Regions from separate parts of the Homo sapiens genome. Here region 1 is linked to region 2. Evidence: promoter capture Hi-C in 16 types of primary human blood cells and fetal thymus (Javierre and others, 2016). All regions are on one chromosome and are shown on one strand. The core of a region is centred on a gene start or on the middle of the fragment in contact, and the rest is flanking DNA. Distances in the headings are between cores, read along the strand shown. Region 1 holds the start of DDX19B (DEAD-box helicase 19B). Region 2 holds the start of VAC14 (VAC14 component of PIKFYVE complex).

Region 1 (4,418 bases), core at 1,314-3,813, 500 kb before region 2:
AACTCAGGAGTTCAAGGATATAGTATGTGCTGTAATGGTGCCTGTGAATAGCCACTGCACTCCAGCCTGGGCAACATAGCAAGACCCTGTCTCTAATTTAAAAAAAACCATGCATATGGAAAATAATTTCAGAGGATAAAGCATACTCAATCCACCCCCACCCTTCTAGAGGCCCTCACCAGGGGCAGCCATGGTTATCAGTTTTGTGTGTATCTTAAGCATTTTTTTTTTTTTTTTTGAGACAGAGGCTCGCTCTGTTGCCCAGGCTGGAGTGCAGTGGCATGATCTCAGCTCACTGCAACCTCTGCCTCCTGGGTTCAAGCAATTCTCTGCCTCAGCCTCCCAAGTAGCTGGGATTACAGGCACCCACCACCATGCTCAGCTGATTTTTGTATTTTTAGTAGAGACAGAGTTTCACCATCTTGACCAGGCTGATCTTGAACTCCTGACCTCGTGATCCACCACCTTGGCCTCCCAAACTGCTGGGATTACAGGCGTGAGCCACCGCACCTGGCCACATTTTTTTTTTTTTTAAGAGGCGATGGTTTCACTATGTTGTCCAGGCTGGCTTCGAACTTCTGAGCTCAGGCGATCCTCCAACCTCAGCTTCAGGAGTAGCTGGGACTGCAGACACAGGCCACTGCTCCGGTCTTCTTAGGCATTTTCCATAGTGTATAAAAGCATATATGGGAGCTTGGGGGCTTTTGGGGTGGGGGTTCCTGTTTGTTTTGTACAAGTGAACCTACTATATACGGTCCTGCAACTTGGGCGATGTAATTTTTAACCTCATTAAAATGTTTTGCAAATTTCATTAACCTCTAGCCCTGTGAAACAATATAATTTATCTGGGAAAATATCCCCAGGGTTGCTTCTGAATTGATGAGATGTAGGTCATGGCTACCAAGGTGGTGTTTGCCTTTTTCTTTTTAGCACATCCTCATGTGTAAGGTCAAAAACAAAAAACAAAAACGTCTTCTCCAGTTAACCCTGTGAGAGTGCAGGAAAAAATAATCATAGCAAGTAGAATGTTCTCTGGAACTGCTTTACCCTTTCTCAAAACGTTTTTACTCTTACAGTACTGGTAAAATTCCACAGAGAACCCACCATGGCTTGATTTTTGTTTGTTTGTTTTTATTTATGTATTTATTTGAGACAGAGTCTTGCTCTGTCGTCCAGGCTGGAGTGCAGTGGCATGATCTTGGCTCACTGCAACCTCCACCTCCCGGGTTCAAGCGATTCTCCTGCCTCAGCCTCCCAAGTAGCTGGGACTACAGGTGCATGCCACCACACCCAGCTAATTTTTGTATTTTTAGTAGAGACAGGGTTTCACCATGTTGGTCAGGATGGTCTCAATCTCCTGACCTCGTGATCCACCTGCTTTGGCCTCCCAAAGTGCTGGGATTACAGGTGCAAGCCACCGTGCCCAGTCTATTTATTTATTTTTTTTGAGACAGAGTTTCACTCGTCGCCCAGGCTGCAGTGTGATGGCATGATCTCGGCTCACTGCAACCTTTGCCTTCCGGGTTCTAGTGATTCTCCTGCCTCAGGCTTACAAGTAGCTGGGATTACAGGTGTGCACCACCATGCTTGGCTAATTTTTGTATTTTTAGTAGAGATAGGGTTTCACCATGTTGGCCAAGCTGGTCTTGATATCCTGACCTCAGGTGATCCACCCACCTTGGCCTCCCAAAGTGCTGGGATTACAGGTGTGAGCCATTGTGCCCGGCCTCATGGCTTGAAATTAACTTATTGTTGTATAATATTGGCAAAATGAAAGAGGTTGGGATTCATTTTTTTCAGATTGTAGGAAAATGCCTAGTTTCTTTCTAGGGAAGTAACAAGGGAAGAGAAGCTTCTTTGATTCTAGTTAGGAGAAAGCAGTTCTTTCATTTAATCCTTATTTTACAACTACTAAAAGCCCAAGATATTTCTTCCTATTTATTTATTTGTTTATGAGGCAGAGTCTTACTCTGTTGCGCAGACTAGAGTGCAGTGACACAAACACTGCTAACTGCAGCCTCAACCTCCTGGGCTCAAGTGATCCTCCCACCTCAGCCTCCCAAGTAGCTGGAACTGCAGGCATGTGCGACGACACCTGGCTAATTTTTAAATTTTTCTTGTGTAAGGATAAGGCCTCGCTATGTTGTTGTTTTCAAACTCCTGGATTCAAGCGATCCTCCCACCTCCACCTCCCAAAATGCTAGGATTACACATGTGAGCTACTGTGCCTGGCCAATCCTGGCACTTTGGGAGGTGGAGGTGGGAGGATCACTTGAGCTCAGGAGTTTGAGACCAGCCAGGACAACACAGCAAGATCTGTCTCTATCTTAAAAAAACAAAAGGCCGGGTGCAGTGGCTCACGCCTGTAATCCCAGCACTTTGGGAGGCCAAGGCAGGCGGATCACGAGGTCAGGAGATTGAGACCATCCTGGCCAACATGGTGAAACACCATCTCTATTAAAAATAGAAAAACTAGCTGGGCATGGTGGCGCATGCTTGTAATCCCAGCTACTTGGGAGGCTGAGGCAAGAGAATTTCTTGAACCCAGGAGGTGGAGGTTGCAGTGAGCCGAAATCGTGCCACTGCACTCCAGCCTGGGCGACAGAGCCAGACTCAATCTCAAAAAACAAACAAAAACCCAAGTGCTGAGATTACAGGCATGAGCCACCACACCTAGCTCTATTTAATTATTTTACTATTTTAATTTTATTTATTTTTTTCCTAGACAGAGTTTTGCTCTGTCACCCAGGCTGGAGTGCAGTGGCCCTGTCATGGCTCACTGCAGCCTAGACCTCCTGGGCTCAAGTGATCCTTCCGCCTCGGCCTCCAGAAGTGCTGGGATTACATGCATGAGCCACCGCACCGTCTGTTTTCTTCCTTTTTAACATTCTCCTGATTCTACAACGCTTACATAGGAGAGCTGCAATTCCTCCTCTTGGGGTACAAATTTATGAGTGCAGGTGCAGTTTTGTTACATGCCTAACAAGATTGCATAGTGGTCAAGTGGACTTTTAACCAAATGGGTTGTCAGGGCTGATTGCCAACATCTGGACATTTTAAATTACCAATCTGAAAAGGGAAACAGCTCTGTGCTTGTTTTGCATTTTGGTGACTATTGGTAATGGTTTTCTGTTTTGATATATTCAATCTGTTCAATCTGTATTAGTGCCTACTCTGCCACTGTGTTGGGCGGGAATCTGATTTTGTTCTTTGGTTGGAGATCCAAGTTAACCAGAGCTTAGGCATTTTAAGATAACTACCTCAGCTTGATAGGAAAGCTTGCTCTGCCCGGGGTTGAGGGGTACGGGTCTGAGGGCAACAGAATCGACAGCCTCAAGTGGGCAAAGGGTGGCCAAACAGGAGTGGCCTCCGACGTCACTGTGGCGCGCCGCTTCCGGTCTGCAGCCTTGTAGTGGGGCTGGAGCAGAGCCTGCCGCGAACCCCCGGAGCCCACGATCCCTCGTGCCATCCCTCGAATCCACCAGCACGAGCGTCCCACCCGCGCCTGGGACCATGGCCACTGACTCATGGGCCCTGGCGGTGGACGAGCAGGAAGCTGCGGCTGAGTCGGTGAGTTGGCTTCAGCCCTAAAAGGGTCAGGGGACTAGTTCTGGTCGGAGACTTGGTCCCTGGGAAAGAATGTTTCCCAGGTTGATTAGAGGCTGGATGGGGTGGCGGGGAGGATAGGGATGGAGCCTGGACCCTGAGCTGGCTTTGTTTACGCAGCCGCCTCCGCGTTACGTAAGCGCAGGTGAGTGCTCCTATCGGTAAAGCGCTCAGCTGCCTGTCTGTCTTCCTGGAACCAGGAAGAATCATAGATTGCACCCATCACCCTAGATTGTGTTTTGTTTGTTTTTAATTGAAATAGAGACATGGTCTTGCTAGGTTGCCCAGGCTAGTCTGGAACTCCTGGTCTCAAGCTATCTTCCTGCCTCGGCCTTTCAAAGCACCAGGATTACAGGCTGAGCCATTGTTCCTGGCCGCCCCGGTTTGTAATAGTTATTTTAGGTGTCATTCTCCACCTCTACATTCAGAGCTTCTTTGGCTCAGGGACCATGTCTTTGCTCATATTTGTGTGCTTCCTCAGTGATAAATGATGGACCCAGTAGGTGTGGCAGTCAGCAAATCCTTTCCTCATCGGCTTCACTTTGTTCTTTTTTTCTGGACCTGACACATGGTAAGCAAGAGATGTGTTAAACACTACTGCGTAGAATTAATTTCTCCCACCGAAACACTTTAAATCCTAGTAGGCTTTGAACCTACTTCTGTTAGTACTTATTGCTATGACTTCCTCAAGAATAAGAACCTTGTCTTTTATTTTTTATAGCTCATAAAAAATAAGTTGTATATACACATTGTTTAAAGAGTGAAGTTATTTTAAAAACAACGGTTCCCGCCAATTTTTTTCCTCCCCAGAG
Region 2 (4,674 bases), core at 247-2,746:
AGCCCACTACAACCAAAAATCATCTGCCCCAAAATGTGAATGGTGCAGAGGCTGAGAAACCCTGAGTTAAGGAATTTGCCCCAGGTTAACGAATGAATGTCACACCACGGAATAGATTAGAGCAGTCCAATAGAGCATTCTGCAATGATGGAAACAGTCTATAATCTGTGCTGCCCTATATAGCAGCCAATAGCTACATGTGGCTATTGAACACTTGAAATACGGGTAGTGTGACTGAGAAACTAAAGTTTAATCTTTAATAATTTAAATTTATAATAGCTACGCACGGCCAACGGCTACTCTACTGGACAGAACAGAAATACAATTCACCTTTTCTGACTCGCAGACTGGTATTCTTCCAGTTTCACAGCCTGCTTCTTTCCAATTTTCTGAAATCACTCACTCACTTGACTTTAACACTAAAATGTGACTGGGAAAAAACCCACAAAAGTAAAATAATACTGCAGAAAAAAAAATAAATAAAACATCCCCAGTTAAACTTTCGCTGTTTTGTACATTGGGAAATAAAGTAAAATATCAGATCATTGTTACACATACATGTAACAAGACTGCAGAAGCAAGAAAGGTCAAATTATTTCTACTTCCACTTGCAGGGAAGGGTGTTATAACACAGATAAAACAAAAAACTCTCTGAGCCTTGAGATCACGAGTTTTCCGACCTGATTTCTCTACTTGGTCACTAACAATCTCCTTCACTTCTCAGAAGCTGGGTAAGAAACCAGGCTGGTCAGCATCACCTGCAAATTCTCCGGCTTCTGACTTCTCTCTCACCACAGAGACAACTCTCTGATTTGCTGGTTTGGGTGGCACCGCACCGAAGACTCACCATGTGCCATGCACTGTGCAAAGCACTACCCATACATGATGTCACTTCATTCTCACTGCAGCCCTTTGTGGCACCGGGAGGTTAAAAAGCTGGGACCAAATCACACAGCCAGTCAGGAGTAAAGCAGGGACTCCCAGATATGGCTCCCAATCTGCTCTTAAACACTGCGCTAAGGTAAGGGCCTAAAACCTGGGAAAGTAACCCTGGCTGGGAAGGCGTGAGAAGTCCCCCTGGGGAGCAGAGCAGTCAGGGGCTGCATAGCCAGGGAGGGGTCCTGGCGGCTCTTACTTCTCGATCTCCAGCGCTGCCACCTTCCGCTTTTCGTACAGCTTGTCATTGAGGGCGCGCACGATGTTAGGCGTGAGCGGCGCGAAATCCTTCTCGGGGTTCATGGTGGCAGCTGGGGGAACCTCGCGACTCCTTAGCCCGCGGCTGCCGGGGCCGCGCCGGGGCCAGGGGAGTCTGCGGCTCCGCTCTGCCCCCGGCGCCGGCGCATGGACCACGCCGCTCTAGGCTTGCCTGCCACGCTCCGCCGCCTCGCCCTGGAACCCGGGCCCGGACCCCGCTCCAGCACACCTGACCCTGGCCGCTTAACAACTCCCGCCCGGCACTAGCGGGACTCACGAGACAGCGGCCATGTTACTCGAGTCACATGACTCTACAGCACTTCCGCCTTCCGTCGCGAGGGCCCGCCCCTCTCCAGCCACGCCCCCACCGCAGGCCGCAGGTGGATTGGCCACGCCCTCGGAAGGCTCCACCCACACTGCACACACTATCGCGCTGCGCGCCAGGTAGCTGGAGTGTGGTTTGAGACGTGCTTTAATGGGTGTGTAGCTCACGCCCAACTGATGGCACGTGGTGGGCTTCTGTAGACGTTCGTAAGACCGAATGGGTTCTTGGAGTCTGATTCACTTAACATAATTTATTCAATAGTCACCGAATTCACTAGTTCATTCAGTAGTTGGTCACTTACCAATTTCCTAGATGCAGACGTTTCCCTAACTGCAGTAACACTGTCATCACTTTCACCATATTCTAGCCACTTGTATTATCTATTTAATGTTTTCCTCAAATCAACTCACTTTAAAAAATACCTTAAATCTCTTTTAGCTTTGCTTATGCCCTAAAACCATGAGTTTGAATAGGTATATTTTTTCTAAGACACATCAAAATAAATTCTCAATTAAAAATGGCACTACCTGTCTACCACCTAAGATCTCAGGTACCACCAGTGTCTGTCACTCCACCATTTGGGGGTGTGTTTAACATGCTCTGATGCCTAGGAGGGCTGGTTACAGACAGAGAGAAAGGCCCCAGATCTGCTGAGTGCGGGTCTCTAGATAGGTCCCCTGGAAAGCAGCCCCTTCAGCTGCTTCGGGAATCACATTACATGGTGAGACAGAAATCCCAACTATGTGGCAAAATATTTAAAAGCAATTTATGGCCGGAGTGTGGTAAACATGCAGTTAACAGGGAGGTGCATCAGCCTTTCCTATCATAAGCTTTCAGAGTGAACAGGGACTTAGGACAAGGGCTAGATTACAGTGGAGCTCAAAGAATAACAGTTTCAGAATGCATGGTGATACTTTTCTTTAATGAATGAAAAGTGCATATATAGGCCTTATAACAGTCTTGAAAATGGAGTATTTTCCTCAACAGAAACAGGGACGCAATGAGTAAAGGGCAAAAGTAGGCAGAATTCTAGGATGACCTCCAATATTCCCACCCCTTCGTGTTCATGCCCTGTATTATGCCCTCTTTCAGCGTGAACAAGACTTGTAAATATGATGGGCTATGCATCACTCACATGATTATATTATGTAATATCGCAGAAGAGATTTTGCAGATGTAATTAAGGTCCCTAATCAGCAGACATTGAATTAATAAAAAGAGAGATTAACTTGAGTCGGCCTGACCGAATCAAGTGAGTACTTAAAAGAGATTAGAAGAAATTTGAACTGGAAGAGAGACTCTCCTGTAAGGAGTTTAGTCATATGGCCACAAAGGAATGAATTTTGCCAACACATTGAGGGTCCTTGGAAGCAGATCTTTCCCTAGTTGAGCCTCCTGATGAGGATGCAGCTGGCCAGCACCTTGATTTCAGCCTTGTGGAACCCTGAGCTGAGAATCCAGTTCACACTGGGCTCTCAACCCATGGAAACTGTGAGATAATAAATTTGTGTTGTTTTGCTCTCCTAGTTTTGTGGTAATTTGTTATGCAGCCATAGAAAATGAATACAAAGGCTAATCCAAAACTCGGCAAGTCATGGATATATCATGTCTAGAAAAATCCATAAAAAATGTATTCTCCTATACAGGTGGGGTTTTCATAGTTGTTAAAACCTTTGCTGACACAATCCTATGAATGAAGGTAGGTGCGCTAACAAGTAGTAGTAGTGCTGCCAAGGACATCTCCAAATGTCTTGCAAAGTTTGGTTTTAGGATTTTGATGATGGTTGATGAAAAACACTGAAAAAATGTAAATCAATGGGAATGATTTGGTTCTATTTCTCCAATGTGTGTGCATTTCCACGGGACGCATATCTAATATATTTCATGTTTCTTTTGCTTTTTGGTTTGGCTTTTTCTTAGAGGTGAACTGAATTTCCCAAGGGTAATGATACAGTTTTTAATAATTCAAACAATAAGGAATTTTTTTTTTACCAGAAGTATTCTTTTCTCCTGAAATTATATTCTGGCTCAGGTTGCTAAGTAACCAGTTTTTTATTCAAGGCCCAGACCAATGCCTACCTTTAGGTCAGAAGTTCCTAGAAAGAAGTGGTTCTTTTCTCTAATATCTTGAAAAATGCCAACTAGGTAAGATTATTTATGCATAATTGAGCTAGCAGTGGTGGTAAAAATAAAGCCCAAAGGCTACCCTTGCCTTCCACCCTTGTTCCTCTTCTCTGACCTGTGACCATTCCTGTTGAAACTCTTCTAGACTAGGGGATAACTGATGTGCCTGACTGCATACTAGTCATTATTTCACAGTTACAATTCATCTGCATCTGTGTGATGCTTGGTTGTTATGCTAGAACTTGTAATAGTTCTGTAACAACTATTCATAATAGCTATTACAAGTATGTAAAAGTTATGACATAACTTGTAGCAAGAGGCTGCTGATGACATTGTAAGAAATTGTACCAAAATCTTGAACTGTGCAAAGCAGTTTCTCCAACAGCAATGTAATTGTAGCTGGAGTTTCAGGGCAACAGGGTTTAAGGTATTAGGTAGAGGTCTTGAAATGTAGCAGGCCCTCACCAATGTTACAGTATTGTCACCTCTGACTTGAGGCTCCTAAAGAAGTGGTTAGACTTAGCATGCCACACTCACTGGGGGCCCAGTGTGGAACGAGGCCAGGGAGCCCCATTCCCATGGTATTCTGTGCACAGTGCTCCTTGGAGTTCTGCCACACAGCTACCCTGACATTTTCTGAACATCCCCCAGTTAGAAGTCTCCTGGTCTGCTTTGCTGAGAATGGATTCTCCAATGTAACTTCCACAAGCATGTGTTGGAAGGGTTATTTTCATCAAGCCTGCTGTTAAGCTACTTTGCCATTCCAAATTTGCTAATATAAGACTATTTTGTTATTGTTTGAGGCTAAGGAAGCACGAGAAAAACCTAAAGGGAAGAAATGCACCCAATCTCAAACCAGCCTGGAAGAGGGTTCACACTGGGGCAGGATCTGAGCTTGGCTCTTGGTCCCAGGGAGAAGGAACTTCCTCCTCTCTCAGGGGCTAGGAGGATTTGGACCCTAGACTCAGTGGTGTTATAGGACCAACACGTTTGTGTGCCCACTGTGCAGTAACAGACCAATGCACAGAGAC

Evidence for each region. Contacts are between HindIII fragments. The CHiCAGO score rates a contact against its expected background, and 5 or more counts as called.
Region 1: a contact is called between a fragment that was not itself captured here and the fragment with the promoter of VAC14 in region 2, in 1 of 17 cell types (fetal thymus). The highest score is 5.9, in fetal thymus.

What each region holds. Positions count from the first base shown.
Region 1 is chr16:70,295,785-70,300,202 of GRCh38, forward strand. It overlaps DDX19B (DEAD-box helicase 19B), which reads left to right and starts at 3,402. Exons shown (of 12, transcript NM_007242.7): 1 at 3,402-3,570. The coding sequence starts at 3,514. RefSeq lists enhancers at 3,222-3,516, 3,248-3,477. The HindIII fragment of the contact is 1,426 bases long and covers 1,851-3,276 here.
Region 2 is chr16:70,799,662-70,804,335 of GRCh38, forward strand. VAC14 (VAC14 component of PIKFYVE complex) reads right to left here and starts at 1,497. Exons shown (of 19, transcript NM_018052.5): 1 at 1,136-1,497. The coding sequence starts at 1,239. It overlaps HYDIN (HYDIN axonemal central pair apparatus protein), which reads right to left. Exons shown (of 86, transcript NM_001270974.2): 86 at 2,423-4,674. RefSeq lists enhancers at 1,183-1,805, 1,473-1,532 and a silencer at 1,203-1,392. The HindIII fragment of the contact is 5,317 bases long and covers 1-2,347 here.